Linked DNA regions of Homo sapiens: region 1 is linked to region 2. The links are contacts of gene promoters, found by promoter capture Hi-C in human tissues and cell types (Jung and others, 2019). All regions are on one chromosome and are shown on one strand. The core of a region is centred on a gene start or on the middle of the fragment in contact, and the rest is flanking DNA. Distances in the headings are between cores, read along the strand shown. Region 1 overlaps DOCK3 (dedicator of cytokinesis 3). Region 2 holds the start of CISH (cytokine inducible SH2 containing protein).

Region 1 (6,183 bases), core at 1,749-4,248, 570 kb after region 2:
CTTGAAATGGTTGGGGGTGGGGGGAAGAGTGAGAGGAAGAGGAATAGTAAGAGGGACTTTGGGCTGTACATCAGGGAGCTGAGACTCAGATCCCTATAGGGTCTAAATGGTATGTATTGTTTTCTCCTCTAGATTTCTAAAATTCCTTTTACCTTTAATATTCTGCAATTAAAGACATCATCCAAACCTTCAAGGAGTTAATGGTCTGATTGGGAAAACCAAACATAAATTAATTATAATACAAGATAAATAAATGATAAAATAGAAGTAAAAATAAAGTTTCACAAGAATTAAACACGAAGGAGCAGTTTATACCAGGCTCCTACTCATTCTTAGAATAGGAGGTTATACATAAGCAAGGGTTATAGATTGGAATGCCTCACACAGCAGTGGGGTAGGGTTGGAGACATTGTATAAACTCATGCCTAGCTTAATATAGGCACATACAGTTACATATTAAAAGATTTTAAATATGTTCACATACATACATTAGTATACATACAAATATTTCCTCACTTTGTCAGCTGAGAGGGCCTACAGGAAGCACTCCAATTGCAATGACCATACCTAGAGCCTAGATCTTGGTTTCTAATATCATTTTCAAACAAACAAAAAAATACAGGCCGGGGTGGTGTCTCATGCCTGTAATTCCAGCACTTTGGGAGGCCAAGGTGGGCAGATTACCTGAGGTCAGGAGTTCGAGAGCAGCCTGGCCAACATGGCAAAACCCCGTCTCCACTAAAAATAACAAAAATTAGCCGGCCAAGGTGGCAGGTGCCTGTAATCCCAGCTACTCAGGAGGCTGAGGCAGGAGAATCGCTTGTACCTGGGAGGCAGAAATTGCAGTGAGCCAAGATCGTGCCATTGCACTCCAGCCTGGGCAACAAGAGCAAAAGTCTGCTTTGAAACAAAAAAAAAAAAAAGAAAGAAAAAAAACCAGGGCTCTTTAGATAAATGGCTGAGTCTAGGACTAGAGTAGGTAATATACAAAATGATCCTGAAGCAGAAAGTGCCAGAAAGCAAAGACATGCTCAAAATTTTTTTAAAATTTTAGAAGATCCACAGTGGTGGGAGTATATCAAAGGAACATTGAAGCTAACTGAAAGAACTTCCAATGGCCAAAATTGGAACAATTTTAGCCAAAAAAAAAAAAGTTACTGAATTTTAACCCAAAGTATAAGATAAATATCCGTGAGTTGATACTTGAATAAATATGATGGAATAAATAACTGAGGGAGAAGAAACAAATCTCTTATGTAGAAGAATTTCAAGTAACGTATGCATATAGATACTCAGCCATCAAGGAGGTGGAGCATAATTCCCCACTCCTTAAGTGTGAGATGTGCGTACTGAACTCTTTCTAAAAATAACAATGTGGAAAGGGGGCTGAGGGAAACTACAGTGAAGAAACCTGACAAGCACTACTTCAACCAGATAATCAGGGATAACATCAGCAGGCAAAAGTCATGCTGATAGTATGTACCCTTGATATGATATGATGAGACTGAGACTTCATCTCTGTGATCTTCCTCCTCAAAACACATTACTTCTAATCATGGAAAAAATATGGGAACAATCCCACCTGAAAACTCTACAAAATACCTGATTATTACTTCTCAAAACTGTCAATTTTACCTAAAATGAGAAAAGTTTGAGAAACTGTCACAGTCAAGAGAAACCTAACGAGACATGATACCTCAATGTAATATGGTACCTGGATGAGATCTTGGAGCAGAAAAAAGATACTAGGTTAAAACTAAGAAAATCTGAAAAATTTGAATAAAGTATGGACTTAACTAATAGTAAATTATCAGTATTGGTTCATTAATTATGACAAATGTACAATAAAATAAAGTGTTAATAATAGGAGAAATTGGGTGCAGGATATGTGGGACCTCTCTATAATATCTTTGCAATTTTTCTGTGACTCTAAAATTCTTATAAAGAGTGCAAATAAATAGGAAAAGAATGTCCAACATTCTTTCTGTACTAAGGAGCAGAGGTCCCTTTCTTAAATATAATGGTCAAGTAGGCATTTAATAAGTAGCCTGCAAGCACCAAGTAATGAACTCTGTAAAGATCAAACAAAATGTACGTTCAGAGTTTCCATTGTATATTTTGAGGCTTTGCTTTCTTGTTCTAAGATAGTAAAGCTTCTAAGTGTCAGCTAACTGCATGTTCTCTCTCTCAGGGTAACTGATATGGCTTGGCTCTGTGTCCCCACCCAAATCTCATCTTGTAGCTCCCATAATTCCCATGTGTTGTGGGAGGGACCTGGTGGGAGATAATTGAATCATGGGGGCGGGTCTTTCCCATGCTGTTCTCATGATAGTGAATGGGTCTCATGAGATCTGATGGTTTTAAAAAAAGGGAACTTCTCTGCACAAGCCCTTTTTTTTGCTTGCTGCATACATGCATACATGTAAGATGTGATTTGCTCCTCCTTGCCTTCCACCATGATTGTGAGGCCTCCCCAGCCATGTGTAACTGTGAGTCCAGTTAAACCTCTTTGTTTTGTATATTGCCTAGTTTTGGGTATGTCTTTGTCAGCAGTGTGAAAATGGAGTAATACAATAAATTGGTACCAGTAGAGTCGGGCACTGCTGAAAAGATACCTAAAAATGTGGAAGCAACTTTGAAACTGGGTAACAGGCAGAGGAACAGTTTGGAGGGCTCAGAAGAAGACAGGAAAATGCGGGAAAGTTTGAAACTTCCTGTAGACTTGTTGAATGGCTGTGCTCAAAATGCTGATAGTGATATGGACAATAAGGTCCAGGCTGAGTTGGTATCAGATGGAAATGAGGACCTTGTTGGTAACTGGAGCAAAGATGACTTTTGTTATGTTTTAGCAAAGAGACCAGCAGCCTTTTGCCCCTGTCATAGAGATTTGTGGAACATTGAACTTGAGAGAGATAATTTAGGGTATCTGGTGGAGGAAATTTCTAAGCAGCAAAGCATTCAAGATGTGACTTGGGTGCTGTTAAAGGCATTCAGTTTTATAAGGGAAGCAGAGCACAAAAGCTTGGAAAATTCGCAGCCTAACAATGCAATAGAAAAGAAAATTACATTCTCTGAGGAGAAATTCAAGCTGGCTGCATAAATTTGCATAAGTAATGAGGAGCTGAATGTTAATCCCCAAGACAATGGGGAAAATGTCTCCAGGGCATGTCAGAGATCTTCATGGCAGCCCCTCCCATCACAGGCCTAGAGGCCTAGGAGGAAAAAGTGGTTTCGTGGGCCAGGTCCAGGGTTCCCCACACTGTGTGCAGCCTAGGGCACCTAGCCTTGGTGCCCTGCATCTCAGCTGCTCCAGCTGTGGCTGAAAGGGGCCAATGTAAACCTTGGGCCGTGGCTTCAAAGGATGCAAGCCTCAAGCCTTGGCAGCTTCCACATGGTGTTGAGCCTGCCAGCGCACAGAAGTCAAGAATTGGGGTTTGGGAACCTCCACCTGGATTTCAGAGGATGTATGGAAATGCCTGGATGCCCAGGCAGAAGTTTGCTTCAGGGGCAGGGCTCTCATGGAGAACCTCTGCTAGGGCAGTGCAGAAGGGAAATGTAGGTTCAGAGCCCCCACACAGAGTCCCTACTGAGGCACTGCCTAGTGGAGCTGTGAGAAGAGGGCCACCATCCTCCAGACCCCAGAATGGTAGATCCACAGACAGCTTGCACCCTGCTCCTGGAAAAGCCACAGATGCTCAACACCAGCCTGTGAAAGCAGCCAGGAGAGGGGCTATACCCTGCAAAGCCACAGTGGGTGGAGCTGCCCAAGACTATGGGAACCTACCTCTTGCATCAGCGTGACCTGGATGTGAGACATGAAGTCAAAGGAGATCATTTTGGAGCTGTAAGATTTGACTGCCTCACTGGATTTCAGACTTGCATGGGGCCTGTAGCCCCTTTGTTTTGGCCAAAGTCTACCATTTGGAATGGCTGTATTTACCCAAAGCCTGTACCCCCATTATATCTAGGAAGTGACTAACTTGCTTGTGATTTTACAGACTCATAGGTGGAAGGGACTTGCTTTGGCAGAGATGAGACCTTGGGCTGTGGACTTTTGAGTTAATGCTAAAATGAGTTGAGACTTTGGGGGACTGTTGGGATGGCATGGGTGGTTTTGAAATGTGAAGATATGAGATTTTGGAGGAGCCAAGGGTAGAATGATATGGTTTGGCTCTGTGTCCCCACCCAAATCTCATCTTGTAGCTCTCATAATTCCCACATATTGTGGGAGGGACCCGGTGGGAGATGATTGAATCATGGGGGCAGGTCTTTCTTGTGCTGTTCTCATGAATGGGTCTCTTGAGATCTGATGGTTTTAAAAAACGGGAGTTTCTCTGCACAAGCTTTTTTTTTTTTTTTTTTTGCCTGCTGCCATACTTGTAAGATATGACTTGCTCCTTCTTGCCTTCCACCGTGATTGTGAGGCCTCCCCAGCCACATGAAACTGTGAGTCCAATTAACCTCTTTCTTTTGTAAATTGCCCAGTTTGGGGTATGTCTTTATCAGCAGTGTGAAAACAGACTAATACAGTGACTATGGTACAGAATGATTTCTCAAGATGTGCCTTCATGTAATATGATTGTGGTAGATAACGTGGGCAGAGTGGGCATTAGTGACTTATAAGCTATTAGAGGAAAGAGCTAGACTCAGGATGAACAACGGAGCCTTCCTTTCTTTATCTGTTCCCTAGAGAAATGCTCAACATAGTCTTTTGTGCTCCTTTTTTCTCATTTGTATTTTAAACTATTTTCACTTTTTAAAATTTCTTCATGAGATGCCCTCATATCTTGGAGGCACATTAGTACGAAGTGGAAAGCAGAGAATTAATGTTATTCTAAGAGTAAATGAAGTTTATTAAATATGCTAAACATTGTAAGGCTAAAACAATATTACTTATTTAAGTAGGTTTCACTGAAGACAGCATAGGTTAAACATAGTAATTGTTTTTTAAGATGATGTAGGTTTTATTTTATTTCTACAAATGTATGAGGTACATGAGGGATTTCGTTACATGTATATAATGCATAGTGGTCAAGTCAGGGTATTTAGGGTGTCCACCACGCAAGTACAATACATTTTTGTTAAATATAGTGAATCTACTCAACTCTCAAACATTGAATTTTATCCTCCTTACTGTGTGTTTGTATCCTTTAATCCAGTTGTCTTCATCAGCTTCCTCCCTGCTACTCACTCTTCCCAGCTTCTGTTATTTATCTTTCCATTCACTACATGCATGTGATCAAATGTTTTAGTTCCCACATGTAAGTGAGAATGTCTTTTCATGCCTCATTTCATTTAAAACAATGACCTCTGGTTCCATCCATGTTACTAAAGGTAACATGGTTTTATTCTTTTCAATGGCTGAATAGTATTTTGTGTCGGGGGATGTGGGGGTGTGGGTGTGTGTATCACATTTTCTTTTCTTATCTGTTCATTCATTGAACACTTAGATTGATTCCATATCTTTGCTATTGTGAATAGTGCTGCAATAAACATGTGAGTTCAGATATCCCTTTGACATATTGATTTCTTTTTCTCTGGGTAGACAGTCAGTAGTGGGATTGCTGGATCAAATGGTAATTCTGTTTTTAGTTTTTTGAGAAATCTCCATACTGTTTTCCATAGTGGCTGTACTAGTTTACATTCCCACCAGTAGTGTATAAGAGTTCCCTTTTCTCTGCATCCATGCAAACATCTGTTATTTTTTTCTTTTTCTGACTGGGATAAGATGATAGCTCATTGTGGTTTTGATTTACATTTGCCTGATGATTAGTGATGTTGAACATTTTTGCATTTATCTGTTGACCATTTGTATGTCTTCTTTTGAGAAATTCTGTTCAGATTCTTTGCCCACTATTTTTTTTTTATTTCAATAGCTTTTGGGGTACAGGTGGTTTTGGGTTACATGGATGAATTGTATAGTGGTGAAGTCAGATTTTTGTGCACCCATCACCCGAGTAGTGTACATTGTATCCAATGTGTAGATTTTTTATTCCTCATCTCTCTCCCACCCTCCCCTTTCTGAGTCTCTAAAGTTCATTATATCACTCCTTATGCCTTTGCTTACCAAAGCTTAGGTCCCACTTATAAGTAAGAACATACAGTATTTGGTTTCTCATTCCTGAGTTACTTCACTTACAATAAGGGCTTTAGCTCTATCCAAGTTTCTGCAAAAGACATTAT
Region 2 (6,710 bases), core at 2,015-4,514:
TGCATGACTGGCTTGGGCAGTTCCAGGGACGGGGCCCACAGGGGCCGCTGCCCAGTCCGCTCCACAGCCAGCAAAGGACGAGGTCTAGAAGGCAGTGGATGAGCAGTGAGTGGAGGACCCATGCTTCCCCCATCTCCAGAGACCCCCCTATGCCCCAGACTAGTTTCATGACCTCTGGCTGGCCCATCTCACTATGAGCCTCAGCTTCCCCTCTACCCAGCCATGGGCTCAGTTAGTCCAGTATCTCGTTCCCCACTTGTCATCACAAAAGCCACCTTGATTGTTTCCATGTGGGGATCCTCTTTTGAAAGATTCTTTTCCACTGCCCTGCATTTACTAAACAGTAATTAATTGCTCTCTATTTTATATCAACCAAAAACACAGATCATTCCCTATAGGCATGTCTAATGTTCTCACCACACTGATAGGATTCAGTGCAAAGTAGCTTCATGTTTGTGCCCTCCTGGCTGAAGTGGGCTGATTAAATGGCCCACTGATGAATGGTCCTAGTTGAGATAGATCTACGACAGACAAGTAGATTTATCCTATGATAGATCTGTGTGGGGTCCTCCAGAGAAGCCCCAGGATTATGGTAGGCTGCCTGAGGTCACACGCTACCTCCCCATGGATAGGAGTGTCTCTCAGAGGGACCTAGGTCCACACTGGCCAGGACTTAGAGACTGAAATAATCCCCTACCCATACAAGTCAGCCTATCCTGGCCTCTGCTTCTCCCAGTGGAGGGTCTGGGGTGGACAGTGGCCTCTAAAGGCACTGGCAAGTCTCACCTCCTGTCAGTATGAGCTCCCACCAAGGGCAGGGACCTAATCCACACTCCAGTTCCCACCCTGGCAAGCCAGCCCTACCAGGCTCTACGATCTTGTACAAAGCTTGCTCTTCACTGGGCTTCAGTTTCCCTTTTCCGCAATAAAGGGTCCCACCAACCCATGCACTGAGAGGTTCAGTAACACCATATTCTTGGATGGCTGGGGTTGGGGGAACTGAGCCGACCAAAATCTGAGTAGCAGCTTTCTCCTAGGGGAAGCCCACCCAGCAGGGTGATACTAGGGCTTCCTCCTTGGGAGGGCAGCAGGGACTGGCTCTACTTCCCCAGGAAGACAGCTGCTCCTCCCTCACTCCTTGCAAAATACATCTCCAAGCCTTAGTTCTGGGTCTAGTCCCTGGCTGGGCCTCAGGACACCGCCATAATGAAACCATGGCCTTGCCCTCAAGGAGAACCAGACTGGCTGGGGAAGATGACACTAAGAGTAATTATAATGCAAAGTCATAAAACTGCAGGTGTCACGGGGGAGTCAGGGTCTGCTTGCTCCTGAGCTGTGTCTTCCAGGCCAAAGGAAGGAGCTGGGGGAAGGGACCCCAGGTAGAGAGGACAGCATGGGCAAACAGCGCCAGTATTGCTTGTGAGGCAGGAAGGCGCAGGCAGGAGCTGGTGGCAGGAGCCAGACCTGACTCCTGTGTAGGTTATAGGTGACCCTCTAGGTTCTAACAAATCATGGCCCTATGACCACTCACAGTGAGAAAGGGCCACACAACTCTGGCACACCACAGCCTGACAAAAACTTTTCCACACCTACCCTGGCTGTACTGTGGGATCTTGGAAATCCCTCTTGGAGAGCTGGAGGCCAAATTTTGAGATGACCTGCTTGCTGGGGCCCAGAGCTACCTTCCCAGGAGCATGGTTGGTGGCTAGCCAGTCAGGCTGGAACCTCTGTGGGTGGCCACGTCCAGATAGCTTAGCCGGTCCTCAGATCCCACATGTAGGTGTGGGCACCTTTGGGGCTGATGTGGTAGCTGGGTGTATGAATAGCTGTGTTGATCACCACAAGCTCCTGGTGAGTGTGTACCTGGGCAGGGGTGTGTCCATGGCTGTGTCATCATCATGGTGGGGACAGTGGCTGGTGTGTTCTAGGTACATGTGTGTGCCCGCTTTGGAGCGCAGCAGTCTAAAACTTTGTTCCCTGACACCCAACAGTAGCCCTGAGCTTACAAGGGGGTGCTCACCTAGGGTAAAAAGTGAAAGAGGCTATGGGACCCCGGAATGCAGGGGGAGGCTCCTGGGGTGGAAGGCAGTGGTGGGGCAGGTATTCAGGAGTCCCAGAATGCAGACAGGAGGAAGGAACTTGCTGGAGACAGCAAGGGAGAAGTAGTCTTCCCAGCACCTCCATGTCCTCTTCCTTGGCCTCACCTTCCACCCTCCCTCACTTGGCACCAGGCCAGTTGCGATAAGCACAGCCACCCAGTCCTCCCTGAGTGCAGAACACCCATTTATACCTTCTTCCTCTCTCCTTGGAGCTTCCTGAGCTCCTGTCACATCACCATGGCCAGCATCAGACCCTTTGGTTGAAGGGGTTGCTGAGGTTCAGGACAGAGTGGATGGCCAGGAATGCTCAGCTCAGGTCAAGACTCTGTCTTATCAGCATCCCCTCTCCACTGTCCCTTACCTCAAGTCTGGGAAATTTGAAGATGAGAGGCAGGAGCCAAGGTCCTTCTCACATTGGGATCCCAGACTGGGCTGAGACAGGGTTGTGAGACGATTGTGGGGGTACCCCAAGCAGGACCAGGCCAAACCCAGGGCCTCCCGAGAGTTGCAGACCATCAGGTGCCAGCCTGAGGAAAGGCAAGGATCTGCGGCTGGCTTCCCAAGAAGAGCCTACTTGCTAGCCTGGGGCAGGAGAGGGGACACCAGGACAGAGGGGGCCAGGGGCTGGTCCAAGGTTACTAGCAGGCAGGGCAGCAGGCAGGCTAGCGTAGAGTGCTCTGGGCCCAGAAGAATATCTGGGATTGTTGGCCACATCTTGGGGGACGCCGTGCCGTTAGCATCCATCTGCTCCAATGAGAACCCAGGCTGAGCCCACCCTGTGAGTTCCTCCTTTAGCCGGCCAGCCCCCGGTTTCCCAATCCACAGTGGGAATTGAGGTAAGTGTGTGGGGGCGGGGAGTGGGAGTGTCACAGCCCCACACAGAGCCTTGCTCCTGAGGTCCGTCTGCGCTCAGTCACCTCTGGCCCGTCAAGCCCTCCCAATGCCCGGCAGCTAGCACGAAGCCCCTGTTCTCCCGTGCGCCCCTCGTGGTGGCCGGGAAGGGGGCAGAGAGCCGCGCTTACCCCTGAACGCAGAGGACCATGTCCCCGCGGCAGCGGCGACTCCGGAGTGGGGACTCGGCTGGACGGCGGCGGCTGGAGGGAACCAGTGGGCGCGGAGCGCGTGCTGGGTAGGCTCCCGGGGCGCGCGGGCGCAGGACAGGGACTGAGAGGCAGTGGCGCGGACCGCCTGCGAGGGCGAGGGGGGCGGGCCAGACGAGCGGGGCGGGGCGAGCTGCTGCCTAATCCTTTGTCTGCCGCGTTCCAGCCCTTCCCGGAAGCAGCGTCTTCCTAGAACCGCGGGCTGAGCGGTGGGGCCCGGGCGGGGTGCGCGGGCCCCGTCGCCGGGTCTGGGGCCCTGAGCAGTGAAAGGAAATACTTTGACAGATTTCCAAGAACTTTCCAGGAAAACGGGGCGGGGCCCCGCGAGCTGACCAATCGCGACGCTGAAGGTGGAGCCGAGCGGTCGGGGAGGGCCAATAGCAGCGCGTGGACCCGGGGCTGAAGCTACCCAGAGGGGCAGGTCGGAGAGATCAGTGGGGAAAGACCGGGTCGGGGAAGTTAAGGAGGGGCCCGGGCTCAGCAACCCGCGCCCAGATTGCCTTCTGGCATTCTGCGTCGTTGGGGAAGGGCCCTCTTATCTCGCGGTGGAACTCGTGGCAGGGCGGGGGGCGGAGTCCCGGGCTTGTCCTCCCTGCGAGCGGCTCCTCCAAGGAGGTCTGTCGGCGTGTGCAAGCGCCCCGTGTTGGGACGGCCGCTCCTGGACCCTAGGACTCTGTGTGTCGGGTGTCGGATTGGGTGGCATGGGGTGAGATCTGGAGCGGGACTTAGGGCAGGGCGGGGTGCAGAGGACAGTTCCAGAAATGAGTGGGTCCACTGAGGTCAAGCCGGCGGTCACCACAGCCAGAAAGATCCAGACAAGAACGTTTTCTTTGAAAGAGTTGAAGGAGAAAGCACGCCCCAACTTTTCGAATCAGGCAGACCATCCAGTCTTGGCTGGCACTGGTTTCTGGCCGGCCCTGCCAGTCAGGGGAGAAGAGACTACAGATTTGAGAAAGCAAGCAGAGACAGCCCCAGATGGCCCGGACTCTGGGTTGGTACCACCCCCACCCCCCGCCAGAAAAAAAATGCTGAGAGAGAGTCCTGCAACTCAAAACATAGGGAGATAATCTGGGAGTAGGGTGATAGAGGTTGGGGCGGGATGGCGGGGGCAGAGTAGTAACACTCGCTCTTATCTACAGGGAGTACTTGCTGCATTTGATCCTCTACAACTGGTGTTGCTCCCGTTATGCGGACAGAAGACAGCCCCAGGGAACAAATGCTAGGAAATGGCAGGGTAAGAGCTTGGTCCCAGCTCTGAATCAGAAGCCCACGCTCCTACCAGGACCCTCTCCACCTTTTTTCAGTTCACTGGATTCACTATGGAGCATCTTGAAGGACTGTAGGGTCTGTGAATCTCCTCCAAACCCTTGGGCCAGAAGAACTGTGGGATTTGGAGAGGTTGCAGGGTCCACTCCCCACCCCCATCCCCCTCCCAGTGTGTGCCCCCAGGGTCCCCAGAAAGGAGTCTAGCTCTGAGATCCTGGGCAGGGATGACAGACCCCTGGCCTTGTTGAAGGGCCTGAACGATAGCATCCAGGGAAGACAGGGCTCAGTTTGCTCTGCCCAGAATGGCAGAGGGCAAAAGAAACCTGAAAGCAAAACCCTGTGAAACTGGGGAAAAAACGTTAAGTTTCAGATTTCAGGGCAGTCACTTCTCTGTAGCTTTCCTGAAGGGAAGCCGGGCTTCATGAGTGCAACTCTGCCAGCCCCCTCCTGAGTTGGCCAGAAGCCACTTTCTTGGAATGGGGGTAGGGGGGATGGATACCTTATAACCCACTTTGAGGGCTGGGATACCTGGATAGCCTGATATGCGGCCCCTGTGTGGACCACTGACTTGCCAGTAGGAACTGTCCACTGTCTCATTACTATGAAGACAAAAGGACTTTGCCGCTGCCAGGCAACAGAGTTACAATTTTGAACTTGGGTCTCTTATGGGGCCAAATCCCAAGCTCTCTACCAAAACTATACTTCTTCCCCCTCACCATGACTATTCAACTGAACACTTACTATGTGTCAAGCACTCTCAGCAATTTGCAGCCTCATGTCATTGTCACAACTACCACATATTATCTCCTCTTTACAGGTGAGAAAACTGAGGCATGGAGAGGTTACAATATAACTTAGATCTCCCAGCTGGCAAGTAATGGTTTAAGCCAGGAGCCTACACACTTCCTCCTACTTCCTCTATGGGTGCTGGTGATCTGCCGACTCCTAGACATCCAGCTTTAAGGTCCTCAGTGAAGCTTCTCTGCCCCCAGGCCTGTCCATGTCAGAGCACCATGGGTGTCCCTTTGAAAGTATCTCCTACAGGTCAGTGATTATGCAGTCTATGTGTAAACCAAAGGGTTCCAAGGGTTTTGGCCTTCCAACTATTTTTGTGTGTGTGTGAATATGACAGCACTGTGCACCTCACCTGCATGCTGGGAACAGTGATGTGCCCCTGTTCTGCCCCAAGTACTAAGTTGGGTCCCTCTGGCCAACTTAGTACTTAATTCTCCTGCCCTGGCTGCTCCCTAGAAACCCTGGCTCTGATTGCTGGGCCCACACTGCCACCTAGCGGTGCCCCCTCTCATGCCCTCACTAGCCAAATTTCCATAGATTCTTCTCTTCTAGGATAATCCCTCTCCTGCACCCCAGGGATTGAACTTACTGCAAGATTCCCCTGCCACTCCCTACCCAGAACAATCACAAGATGAATCACAAGAATACACAGCAGTGCCTTCCCAAAAGTCTCGCTCATTTGGCCTCCATCCTCTCACCATGTACAGCCTCCCCTCTCCAGTAAGGACAGAGTGTGTGTGTGTGTGTGTGTGTGTGTGTGTGTGTGTGTGTGTAGGATTTAGCCCCCCTCACTTTAAGCTATTCCAAAGTCTCTGTCCCCTTGGACACACAGCTACATGAAGGGCTGTGTGGCAGAGTCTGCCATCATGAACCCACTCCTGACCAGACCTAGCCATCCTGCATGCCAAATCCTCCCATCATTGTGGAGGGGATGCTGCAGGTGGTTGCTGGAACATGAGCACTAAGGGAAACCACATATTCTGACTTTCCTGGGCTAAGTGAGTAGTTTCAAGGCATCTCTCCGATGGACCCATGTGGGGAATGCGTGTGCCTGTGGAAGCATGGACACTGGTTATAGGGACTGGGAGGGGAGAAGCAGCACCTTTGCCTTACTTTTCATACTTCTGTATAATTTGAATTAATTACAATGAGGAAGTTTTACTTATGCAACTTAAAATTTTAATAAAAGAGACCAGCTTAAAAAATACAATTATAAAATTTGTAGAGCAATTATAATCTAATTCCATTTTAAAGAAAGAAGACATCTTCACAGAACATTCAGTGGGATGCCTTTGGCTGGGGCAAGGAGCCAGCCTCCACCCTCAGCTGCCTAGCCTTCTGCTCACCAGAATGACATCTTGCTCAGCCTCAGGTTCACCAGGCTCAAACTAGTTGCCTTCAGAGAGCAGAGAGCCTTCTTTGGCTCCCCCCAGCAGTAGAAGATTCCAGA

The links. The method cuts DNA at HindIII sites, captures the fragments that hold promoters and counts their contacts. A contact is called where the count stands out against the background at its distance.
Region 1: a fragment that was not itself captured here is called in contact with the fragment with the promoter of CISH in region 2 in 3 of the 25 tissues and cell types used here (dorsolateral prefrontal cortex, heart right ventricle and mesendoderm cells).

The regions. Positions count from the first base shown.
Region 1 is chr3:51,183,408-51,189,590 of GRCh38, forward strand. All of the region lies in intron 12 of DOCK3 (dedicator of cytokinesis 3), which reads left to right. Among named protein-coding and RNA genes, the nearest start is that of MANF, 200 kb to the right of the region's middle. The HindIII fragment of the contact is 4,418 bases long and covers 790-5,207 here.
Region 2 is chr3:50,608,510-50,615,219 of GRCh38, forward strand. CISH (cytokine inducible SH2 containing protein) reads right to left here and starts at 3,265. Exons shown (of 3, transcript NM_145071.4): 1 at 3,122-3,265; 2 at 1-84. The coding sequence starts at 3,141. It also overlaps a transcript of MAPKAPK3 not described here. RefSeq lists enhancers at 2,224-2,784, 3,694-3,783 and a silencer at 3,134-3,613. The HindIII fragment of the contact is 7,054 bases long and covers 350-6,710 here.